Regions from separate parts of the Homo sapiens genome. Here region 1 is linked to region 2. The links are contacts of gene promoters, found by promoter capture Hi-C in blood cells and fetal thymus (Javierre and others, 2016). All regions are on one chromosome and are shown on one strand. Each heading gives the region's core, a stretch centred on a gene start or on the middle of the fragment in contact. The rest is flanking DNA. Distances are from core to core; before and after follow the strand shown.

What was found. Contacts are between HindIII fragments. The CHiCAGO score rates a contact against its expected background, and 5 or more counts as called.
Region 1: a contact is called between a fragment that was not itself captured here and the fragment with the promoter of ME1 in region 2, in 1 of 17 cell types (monocytes). The highest score is 5.2, in monocytes.

Annotation. Positions count from the first base shown.
Region 1 is chr6:83,479,823-83,485,503 of GRCh38, reverse strand. No RefSeq gene overlaps it. Among named protein-coding and RNA genes, the nearest start is that of PRSS35, 30 kb to the left of the region's middle. The HindIII fragment of the contact is 652 bases long and covers 1,971-2,622 here.
Region 2 is chr6:83,428,112-83,434,143 of GRCh38, reverse strand. It overlaps ME1 (malic enzyme 1), which reads left to right and starts at 3,093. Exons shown (of 14, transcript NM_002395.6): 1 at 3,093-3,267. The coding sequence starts at 3,190. RefSeq lists enhancers at 1,678-2,877, 2,820-2,989, 3,610-3,879 and a silencer at 3,200-3,389. The HindIII fragment of the contact is 4,994 bases long and covers 1,716-6,032 here.

The sequences.
Region 1 (5,681 bases), core at 1,047-3,546, 52 kb before region 2:
TTGGGTGGATTCCATAGACATAATATTTTAAATAAGTCTGTTTAAACAGTTTAAAGCAATAAAAGAAGGTATTGAAAATATGTGTAAGGGTCAAGAGATTCATTTCTAAAAGACCAAACAGATCTGAAAAAAGAACTAAATAAAATTTTTCAAGATGAGATTATAAATAAAATTGAAAACAGTGAGTATTTTCATAAATGAGATAGTCATATAATTGAACCTGAATGTGATTAAACCTCAAAATCCAAATATCAATTGGTAGAATATATAGGAGCTAGAGGAATATGTTAAACTAAACTGCAGATAAGCAATTGTCAAAATCCAAACTGTAGAAATTTCCTTAAAACAACTCATTTTTCTTAAAAATAGATTACAAGGAAAATATAAAAATATGGAAGGGAACCTATTGATTGAAAGGACATATTCACCAATTGCAATATATTTATCTTATTCAGATTCTGATTCAAACAACTTATAAAAATACAACATTTATGACACAGAAATTTGAACAGCCACTGGATGTTGATGCTATTCAGTGGATATAATCCTATGGATATTAAATAATTATTGTTAATTTGGGCTGTAATAATGGTATGGTGATTTGTGTGAAAACAAGAGTTCTTTTACATATATGTACTGAAATATTTATGGGTTTCTATTTTAATAAATGATTAATCATCTTGGTTTGCTAAGGACTGTCCCAATTTTAGCACTCAAAGTCCCTAATCAAAAAAAAAAAACCTCAGTCTTGAGCAAACCATGATGGTTGGTCACTCTGGTACGGTGTTGATTCTGTGAAATTGGTTGAATTATTGTGCATTAAAATCACTCGTTAAATATTTTTCTATTTGATTTGTTTCCTTTTTCTTTCTTCTTCTTTTTTTTTTTTTTTTTTTTTGCCAATGGGGCGATTTCGGCTCACTGCAACCTCTGCCCACCCCAACTCTCCCAACACCTAAGCCTCGGCTCAAGCCGTCCTCCCACCTCAGCCACCTGAGTAGCTGGGACTACAGGCATGCATCACTATGCCTGGCTAATTTTTGTATTTGTAGTAGAGACGGGGTTTCACCATATTGCCCAGGCTGGATTGCTTGCCTTATTATTGAGTTGTAAGGTCCTAATCTATAATATATAGATTTTAAAAAATATATCACATATATGTAAAAGTTACTTACTAAGGTATAATTTATAAACAATTATATATACAAATCCTAAAAATACAACTTGTAAACTTTTACATAGTTATGTAAAATATATAATATTCTGGATAGAAGTGCTGTGTCAGATATATGTATTGCAGGTATGTTCTTCTAGGCCAGGCTTGTCCAACCCACAGCCCATGGGCCACACACAGTCTAGGATGGCTTTGAATTCAAACCGACACAAATTCATAAACTTCCTTAAAACATTGAGTTTTTTTGCAAATTCCTTTTTTAGCTTATCAGCTGTCATTAGTGTTAGTGTATTTTATGTGTGGTCCAAGAAAATTCTTCTTCTTCCAACGTGACCCAGGGAAGCCAAAAGATTGAACACCCTCATTCTAGGCTATGGAGTTCCTTTCTCTTCGTAAATAGTACCTTTGGATGAGCAGATTTTAAAATTTTGATGAAGACCAATTTATCAATTAAAAAATGTTATGGTTAGTGCTGTTTGTGTCCTGTTAAAAAAAACCTTTCCCTATCTCAAGGTAGTTTAAGCTTTCAAGTGTATATTTGATCTACCCAGAATTGACTTAGTGCATAGGTGTGAGATAAGGGTCAAATTTTATTTCTTATACGTACGAATATCCAGTTGCTCTAGCACCATCCATTGATATGACCATCCTTTTTTTTCTTGGATATAAATTATTGTTTTTGTTGTAAAGCCAGTGACCAAATATCCATGGGCTTATTTCTGGACCCTTTCTTCAGTTCTATTGATCTATTTATCTATCTTTGTGCCAATGCCACACTGTCTTAATTGCCTAAGCTTTATAGCAAGTTTTAAATCTGTTTAAGTAGGTCTTCTAGCTTAGTGTTGGATTTTTGGTTTTTTTTTTTTTTCTTTAGGATTGTTTTGGCTAGTCTAGGTCTTTTGCATTTTCATATGAACTACAGATTCATATTATCAGTTTCTACATACAAATAATTAAGCCTGCTGGGATTTTGATTGGGATTCTGTTAAATCTATAGATCAATTTTAGGGGGAAATGATATCTCAAAAACACCACGCTGGTGGTTTATCTCTACACTTATTTAGGTCTTTAATTTTTTTTTTTGTTTTGAGTCTCACTCTGTTGCCCAGGCTAGAGTGCAGTGGCACAAACACTGGCTCACTGTCGCCCCGATTCCCCTGGGCTCAAGCCTCCTGAGTAGCTGGGACTACAGGTGTGCCACCATGCCCAGCTAATTTTTTTTTTTACTAGAGAAGAGATCTCACTATGTTGCCCAGGCTTGTCTCAAATTCCTGGGCTCAAGTAATTCACCTGCCTCAGGCTCCCAAAATGCTGGAATTACAGGCGTGAGCCACTGCACCCAGCCAGGTCTTTAATTTTTTGAGCAATGTTTGATTACTTTTAGCTTATAGATCTTCCACACTTTTTTAGAATGTACTTTTCTCTTCTAGCTCCTTGAAGTGGAAGCTTAGATCATTGATTTTAAAACTTTCATCCTTTCTAATATATGCATTTAATACACATTTTCTACTAAGTATTGCTTTGGTTGTATCTCATAGAATTAATTTGTATTGTTTTTCAATTCAAAATACTCTCTAACTTTTCTTGTGATTTCTTCTTTGACCAATAGATAATTTAGAAATGTATTTCTTAATTTCTGAACATATCTTTTTGCTTTTGATTTCTAATTTAATTCCATTGTGATAAGAAAATATATTCTGTATGATTTCAGTCATTCAAAATGTATTGAGACTAGCTTTATAGCCCAGAATATTGTCTATTTTGGTGAGTGATCTATGTGCATATAAATAGTATGTGTTTTTTTCTTTTTTGTAGTTGTTGAGTATAATATTCTATAAACTCTATAAATGTTCAATTAGTCAGATTGGTTAATGGTATTGTTCATATCTTCTATATTATTAATATTACTGATATATTGTCTGCCTGTTCTATCAATTACAGAAAGAAGTATTTTTAAATCTCCAATTCTAATTGTGGATTTATCTGTTGATCCTTTTATTTTTGTCAATTTTTACTTCCTTTTTGAAGGTATGTTATAAGGCAAATATACATTAAGGATTTTTGTGACTTCCTATTGAATTGACCCTTTTATCATTAGGAAATGTCCCTTTATATCTAGTAATATTTTTTGCCTGAAAGTCTATTTTTGATATTAATGTAGTCATATCAACTTTCTTATGATTAGTGTTTACACGGTATATGGTATTTATGTTTTCATCATTTTACCTTCAACTGTTCTGTGTCCTCATATGGGATTTTTTTGTCTTTTTATTTTTTGAGACAGAGTCTTGCTCTGTTGCCCAAGCTGGAGTGCAGTGACACAATCTCAGCTCACTGCAACCTCTGCCTCCCAGGTTCAAGCTATTCTCATGCCTCAGCCTCCTGAGTAGCTGGAATTTACAGGCACATGCCACCATGCCTGACTAATTTTTGTATTTTTAGTAGAGACAGGATTTCGCCATGTTGGCCAGGCTGGTCTCAAACTCCTGGCCTCAAGTGATCTGCCCACCTGGGTCTCCCAAACTGCTGGGAGCCCCTGCACCCAGCCTTAAATTTTGTGTCTTATACGTTGGTTCCATTTTTTAAATTTAGTCTAACTATCTGCCTTTTAGTTGGAGTGTTTAGTCCTTTTGTACTTAAAGTAATTACTGATATGCTTTTGGGTCTACCCTCTCAGTACTCACTTTCTATTTCTTCATGTGTTTTTTATTTCCGTGCTCCTCCTTTACTGCCTTCTTCTGGATGTGCGCTTCACATGTGTCTGCACGTGTAGTATGTGACTATGCCGTGAGAATGTTGCCTTTAATTTATAAATTAAAATGTGATGAAGTTAAGAGCATAGTTAATTTAATTCTATTACTTCATTAATTTCTTTTTTAAATTTTAGATTCAGAGGGTACACACGTAGGTTTGTTACATGGATATGTTGCATGATGCTGAGGTTTAGGCTTCTATTGAACCTGTCACTAAATAGTGGACATAGTACCCAATAGGTGTTTCTTCAACCATTGCCTCCTTTGCTACCTCCTCCCTTAGGGAGTTTCCAGTGTCTCTGGTTTCTATCTTTATGGCCGTGTGTACCCAATGTTTAGCTCCCACTTATAAGTGAAAACATGTAGTATTTGATTTTCTGTTTCTGTGTTAATTCACTTAGGATAATAGCCTCCAGCTGCATCCATGTTGCCTCGAAGGACATGGTTTTGTTCTTTTTTATGGCTGCTACTTCATTCATCTCTGAGTGCACTGAAGTGATTGGTTAAATGACAACATATCTGTCCTGTCAAGCTCTTTAACTTGTAAGCCAGAATTTAACTCAAGTCTTTAAAGAGAAAAATTGTATGCTCATAAAACTTCTTGTGAAACAGATATGAATGATGTCTAAATTTAATTCAGTATATATTTCCATAAAATCTTACAACAAAACTCATGGAAACTATAGGAAGATGTCATGTCAGCCATTTCTATCATAGAACAAATATATACTCTCTCAGTTTCATGTCACCTTTTTTAAAAAAATGATTTCTTGAGGAAATACCTTTCTCTCCCTCTGGTAAATTGATTGAACTCTGGAAAGCTGTAACAGAAGAGAGGTTTGGGTCAGGCTGCCTAGAGGAACTTACCTCCCTTGGCAATTGATGCGATCCTGGCTTGTGTCACACAGGTATGATGCAAGTCTGTGCATGTGTGAAGATTATGCTTAACCAAGGGTTTACTTAGTGCAATGATGAAACTGAACTTTGGGGAGTTTTGAGACATAATTCTGTGAAATATAATTGTAACTAAGGTCTCTTTGAGGTAGTTAAGGTCTTTCCCTAGCCATAATAATATTGACTTATTTTGCCTTGCTTTTGGCATTAAGATAAAGACAAAGAGAAACAGTCATTCAAAAGATTGATTCACAATTTTTAAGCACTTTTAGTGCTGGGTATTCTGCCCGGCGCCATAGGTAATCTGAAATAAAAAAAGTCTGAGTTACTGCTCAAGGAAGACCTTGTCAAGTAGGAGGAGCTATGTCATAAATACAGATAACCATAGTATAAGGTAGAAAGTGGCATGCACTATACATTTGAACAAAATGCTAAGGGAGTTCAAGTGGGAAAGACTATTTACAATGGGAGCTGAGAAAGATTTAAAAAAATTCTTTATAAAGGAGGGGACATTTAATTTGGGCCCTAAAGGCTAGGTAGAAACAATAGCTACTGATGAAGTGGAGAATATTAGAGGTAAACACTTAACAAAGGTGTAGCAATAGGTTTGGAGGAAAAATGAGCCATTCTGTTTTGTTGGTATACAAAGTAAAAGTAGGAAAGAAATAATAGATAATTCTGGAAAGATAAGATGAACCGTACCAAGGAGGGTTTTAAATGTCCAGCTGTCATTATTACTCATTAAACATTAACAATGATTTATTCCTTTTACCATGTATTACAAAATAAGGCTAGCTGCTGTATAGACATATAAAATAAGGAAACATGGTCTATATGTGTACTGGATATAAAATATAGTT
Region 2 (6,032 bases), core at 1,844-4,343:
AAATGGTTTGAGGAATGAAACAACTGGGTTGACTATCTGAGAAGAAGGAAAAGAATCAGTGCTTTGTAAAGAAAATCAGTATGTTGCATGCATTTACGGTTATAAATAGCTATATATGTGAAACTAATAAGGTAGTATAACTTGAGTTACTCTGCGATTCATGTAACAACATCTGTATGAACATTACAATAACACAGGTATGTATATTTGATCTTTATTTATTTAAAACATTTAATTAAGGGCCCAAATGCATTGGATTAGACTTGTGCTCTCTAATTCGATGGTCACTGGCATGTTACTAAGCATTTGAAATGTGGCCAGTGCAAATGAGATACTCAGTTTAAATTGTATTTGATTTTAATTTAAATATAAAACAGATACTCAATTTAGTCATTGGAAAACTTTAAGGTATATTTGCAACAAGTTAGGTATGAGAGTCTACTATTGCAAATGTAAGTTTTATAAAATTGAAATACAGATCAAATTTCTGATAAAAATTTGGTGTCTAAATTGAGATGTGTTATAAAATGCACACTAGATTTTGAAGACATAGTAGTAGTGTGCTTTTTGTGTGAAGAAATACAGAATCATTTAGTTAATATTATAAATCCTCACCTAGATATGTATTTTTTCTATTAATCTTTTTTATCTCATGAAAGTAAAATATTAGAATTGCTGTATGTACTAAGAGTTATTTCCTGAATTTTCTATACTTGCAATCTCAACTGACATTACATCAGAGTATCTATTACAATCATATTTTATGTTGTAAAAGCTCTTTGTGTGCTAAACTATAACTTGGGAAAGAAAAATCTGATTTTGACTGATGGCATTCTCACCTGTGTATAACAGAAATCTATGTTTTAGTCTCTTAATTTGTGAATGATACCCATTCTTAACATTACCAATTGCTTTCAGAGTGACAGTGCAACCACAGTTTGTTACAAGGCAAATTAAAGCAGTTTTTTTCTCTGCATCTGTTTTCCTACGTTTTTGGAAATAAAACCTAACCTTATGAGATTATTATTTAAAAAAGACTGAAAATTTTGATATTCTAGCTAACATTTATGTAGAAAAATAGGTTCTTTCTAGTATTCTTGGAACTACATATGAATGTACTAAATGGCTTCTTCAGCTAGGCCTTATCCTGTTTCATTCAAGATGACGGCGGTTATTTTAATAATTAAAATAAACATACAGATGAAAGATGTGAACTTTACCTACTACTGGCAGGATATTGTAATCCCCTTGTAATGTTGCCTTTGAGGGAGAGGCCATATACTCTTTGTGGGTTACTCCCTGTACTTATAACACTTTTCCTATCTGTAGATATTAAATCTCAGAAACAGGAACAGGTAGGTAGTATATCTAAATTCATGTAATAAGTACTTTATTATAATAAGGGTCTGTTGTACTAACATTTTTGTTTCTTCTTAAGCAGCTTGAATTGGCTCCCATGCCAGCTGTTAAACTGTTTCCTCTCACATAAAACACCCTAACTGTAATGTGTCTCAGTTAATTCAGGAGAGTGAGTTGTGTAAAGTACACCTTTTTCTTAGATGTTGTAGGATTGAGTATTTATGGAGTATAGAATTAACAATGAAAGGTGTCATTTAACTTCAAGGATTTTTTTCAAAAAGAACTTTGTGATGCCTAGAAAATATTCTCTATAAAAACAACGAATTCTAGATAATTCAGGCGAGGTCAAAGAAGCTTCTAAATGTAAATACGGACAAAATACAATTACTGTAAGAAATCTTTCTGATAAGGCAAAGTTAACATAACTAGAAATGAAAACACTGTGATTGGATGTGTGTCTAGTATATGGAGATATAAAATCAGCAAATAATCTCAAACACTATCCTTTGTAATATCAGTATGCAGAGACAAATGGGACAGAAACTAGCAATCCTATTTAACTGAAAAGGAAACTGGGGCACAGAAGGCTTTAGTGTCTGTTGCTATTAATTTATTTTTATCAGACAGGCACTCCTTTTGGCTATGATCTGACTATTCCTCCAGTCCATGAACCTCCAAGCATAAATATCAATAAAACAATAAAAAAATGGCCCGGCGCGGTGGCTCACACCTATAATCCCAGCACTTTGGAAGGCGGAGGCGGGCGGATCACCTGAGGTTGGGAGGAAGGCCTGAAAGACTGCTTACTCATCATTATTCAGAGAGAGCAGTGGTTCTTGAACATCAGGTTTCTAGAACTCCCAGAGAAATAATATACAAGATAAACAGGACTGTTCATTGGGCCTTTGCACCCTAACACCTTGACTCTTATCTTATTGACATTCAAATACAATTCCGGTGGAAAATCTGTAGAAACTGACAGGTGTGGCGCCTGAGCTCTCCTCTCTGGGCTTCCTCCCAGTTCCCTTGGGCCTCGGCATTCTGGGTCAAGGTTGGTTCCCTCCGGCCTCAGGGCCCCGGGCATGGCCGGCATCCTGGATGGCACGGCGAAGGTTGTGGATCTGTAGAAAGAGGGCTTCCAAGACGCTAACAAGACAGGAGAGACGAGTCTGATTCTCCTCAGCCTGTCGAGGTGTTCTGTCAACAGTTCTGGGGACCCCTCACGAGTCCTTCCGTCCTGTAATCCCCCTAGGTGTCTGAGCGACCGCCGGCTCTGCCTGAACCGCTCAGGTTCGCACCTTCTGGCATCTTCTCGCACTTTCTCCAGCCTTCCCGGGCAGGGGGATCCTGGCCTGACGCTCCCCGCTCCCTGCCCCCGCCCTGGGTCTCTGGGGTCAGCAGAGCCACCCAGTGCACTGCGTTTAGGCATGCCCACATGGAGAGAGGCGACCACAGCGGTGATCATAAGCCCATGGTGGGCAGAGGCCCTATGGAGCCAAGGGCTCCGGCCGCCACCCCCGCTCCGCCACCAGCAGCGCTGCCAGGACTCGCTCTTCCTCCTCCTCCTCACACGCCGGCTCGGATGATCTCCTGCCATGACTCAGCGCTTCTCGCAGGCTGCCCTGCTGGGGACACCGGCTTCGCTCGGGCCCCTCCCGACGCGTCCACCCCCTCTCGCCACCCACGCCCGCCCCCAGCCGCTGGGCCTTTCCCAGTGCGGCCGCCGCCGCCACAGCTGCAGTCAGCACCGTCACCCCAGCAGCATCCGCCGCCTGCACCGCGCGTGCGGCCCGCCCCGGCCTGACCCCGCCGCCGAACCCGGCGCCAGCCATGGAGCCCGAAGCCCCCCGTCGCCGCCACACCCATCAGCGCGGCTACCTGCTGACACGGAACCCTCACCTCAACAAGGTAAACCCGCAGGCCCACCTGGCCGCCCATCGGCCCCTCTCTATCAGGGTCAGGGCCCTCTTGCAGGTCCCCGCACCATGGCCTCGCCCCTCCGCCGCTCCCCTGGGAAGGTTCCCGGTGAGCGGCCGCGGCCTGGGGGGCCTTGGTGTGGGCAGAAGGAAGAAGGACGCCTAATCGGGTCCGTATCCACTAGAGTGATGGCAGGGCAGTGCTGGTGCCTCTGCACCTCGGCATCCCATGTTAGGGATAGAGGTAAAGGTAAAGGTTAGTGATAGAGGAAAAGGTGATACTTTTCGGCAGCTCTTCTCCAAAAACAAGAGCCCAGACAATGAAAGTAGTATCAGACAAAGTGTGTGAATGGAGTGCCAGGTCAGACTCCATGTGCCACTCACTTACTGGTTGCACACACAGTGTGGCAATTATTGGAAGTTGATAAGGCGAGAAGTGGCTCAACTGGTCCTGCCCAGACAGAAACGTGTACTGAGTGCCTTCAGATCACGTTAGCAATCTGGAAATCCAAGTCCTCTCGGTTTCTGGAGTGACACGGTTAAGAGTCTGGGAATGCGTGGTGGGTGGCCTCTGTCTTGGACACTTTGCATGGCTTGGTAGAAGAACTCTGTCCCAGACATGGGACTGTGGGTAAAGCCATTTCTTTTCTTTCTTTCTTTTGTTTTGTTTTGTTTTGTTTTGTTTTTAATTTGGCTTTCTGGAAGTTAAAAAAAAATTTTGTTTAGAGCTGCTCTCTTTTTATTAAAGGGGAATTCAGTGTACACCCTGTTCAGAGACTCCTTTTCGGATCCTGGTAACATTTCATTTTCCTTCACTGGTGATGCAATATAAGCACTCGGGATGTCTCTCAAATAAAAAATACCTCCGAATTTATCATTTTGCTTCCACACTTATTTTACAGCCAGGTTTGTCTCGGGATTGTTCCTTTTGTGTGTGTGTGTGCGTGCGCTTTGGACATTTCCTATTTATTCAGGAGTCTGAAAATGCCATCAGTCAGCACAGAGGTTTGTTTAGTTATTTTGGTTGTCTCTTTGGTGGACTGCATTTCACATTAAGAACAGAAGCTCAGCTTTTTCCTTGTCGTGTTCCTGATGATTTGTTGATCATATTAATGACTTAAAGACATGATTTATTTAACAAGTTATAGTCAGTGTGAGTGATTTTTTTTGTGTGTGTGGTGACAGGCACCTTTTACAAATCTATGACTGTGTGCTATCTGCCGTCATGTAGCATTATTAAATTGTAAATAATTCCAACTTATTTCTTTCTTTAAAATAAATTTAATTGCTAGTTTGATTGTTTTTTCTTTTCTTTTATTATTCTGCAGGTTTGCCACCTATTTTCAGTAGAACAAAAGTAAAATTTGATGTGACAAAACTATTTGTGACTTGTATGTGTCACCTGCCTACTGTAATTTATGACCAAGTTGTGGGTTGACACTTAAGAAGGACCACATGAGTTGTATAACCTGTTTGATTTTCCTCAAGTTGGGGGCAAGAGTGTCTATTAAGAGTATGTAGATGGCATGAGCAATCCCTGAGCAAGAGTAATTATTGCCTTTACTATGCTTACATCAAGAATTTATTATTATTATTATTATTATTTGAGACGGAGTCGCGCTCTGTCGCCCAGGTTGGAGTGCAGTGGCGCGATCTCCGCTCACTGCAAGCTCCACCTCCTGGGTTCACGCCATTCTCCTGCCTCAGCCTCCCGAGTAGCTGAGACTACAAGCGCCCGCCACCATGCCCGGCAAATTTTTTGTACTTTTAGTACAGACTGGGTTTCACCGTGTTAGTCAGGATTGTCTCGATCTCCTGGCTTCGTGATCCACCCGCCTCAGCCTCCCAAAGTGCTGGGATTACAGGCATGAGCCACCGCGCCCAGCCAAGAATTTATGATATAACAATCCTTGTGACTCCTGTTCACAAGGTTACTAGGAATTAAGGATTAATTCCTACTTCAGAATAATAGTATCACAAAGATCTTCTATCAAAGATAAGATGTAACATTAATATGTTAAAAGCACATTTTCAAATTTGTAATACTTGAACTTTTTATCTGCATTATGTCAAATTGGATCCACAATCCAGTGTACCAACTTGGAGGCAATCGATGGAATAATCTTTTACTCAGTTCTAGGATGGTTATCTGGTACCTTATGGGAGTAACAGAGTTTCCTATGTACCATTGAAACTACAGCTATGGGACTTTCTTCATCTGTCATACATTCAAGACCTCTAGGCCTTTAATTTTGCTAGTAGCTCAGGAATGTTTTGGCTTATTTTTATTCTTATTATTTTGTAATAACCTTGGCTCCAAAGAGACAAGAGTAGATTTTACTTCCCTCAACAACCCAGCCTGTCACATGTCTTCTTCAACCACACTAACACAGAACTTCATCATTTACCTTTGGGTAGCTGCAACAACAGTTTTGCTGGTTTTATTTCCATTGATATAGTTCATTCTACATATATATATGAAAGAGACACCTTCATTAATTAACATTTTCTTCACTTTTCTATTATCCAAGCATTTATAGTATGTTATTATTTCCTATTATGTTTAATGTAAAATCAGTCTGTCAATTGGGTTTACAGTCTTCTCCAAATTTATCTTATTCGTTCCCCAATGTAGGCTTCCACTTAAAATATATTTGCTGAATCTCTTAATTCTTTCCTTTTTGTGTGTAATTTCTACTATGAAAATGTCTTAGTTGATTTAATAATGATCTTTCTAGGGAAGCATTTCTTAGTTAT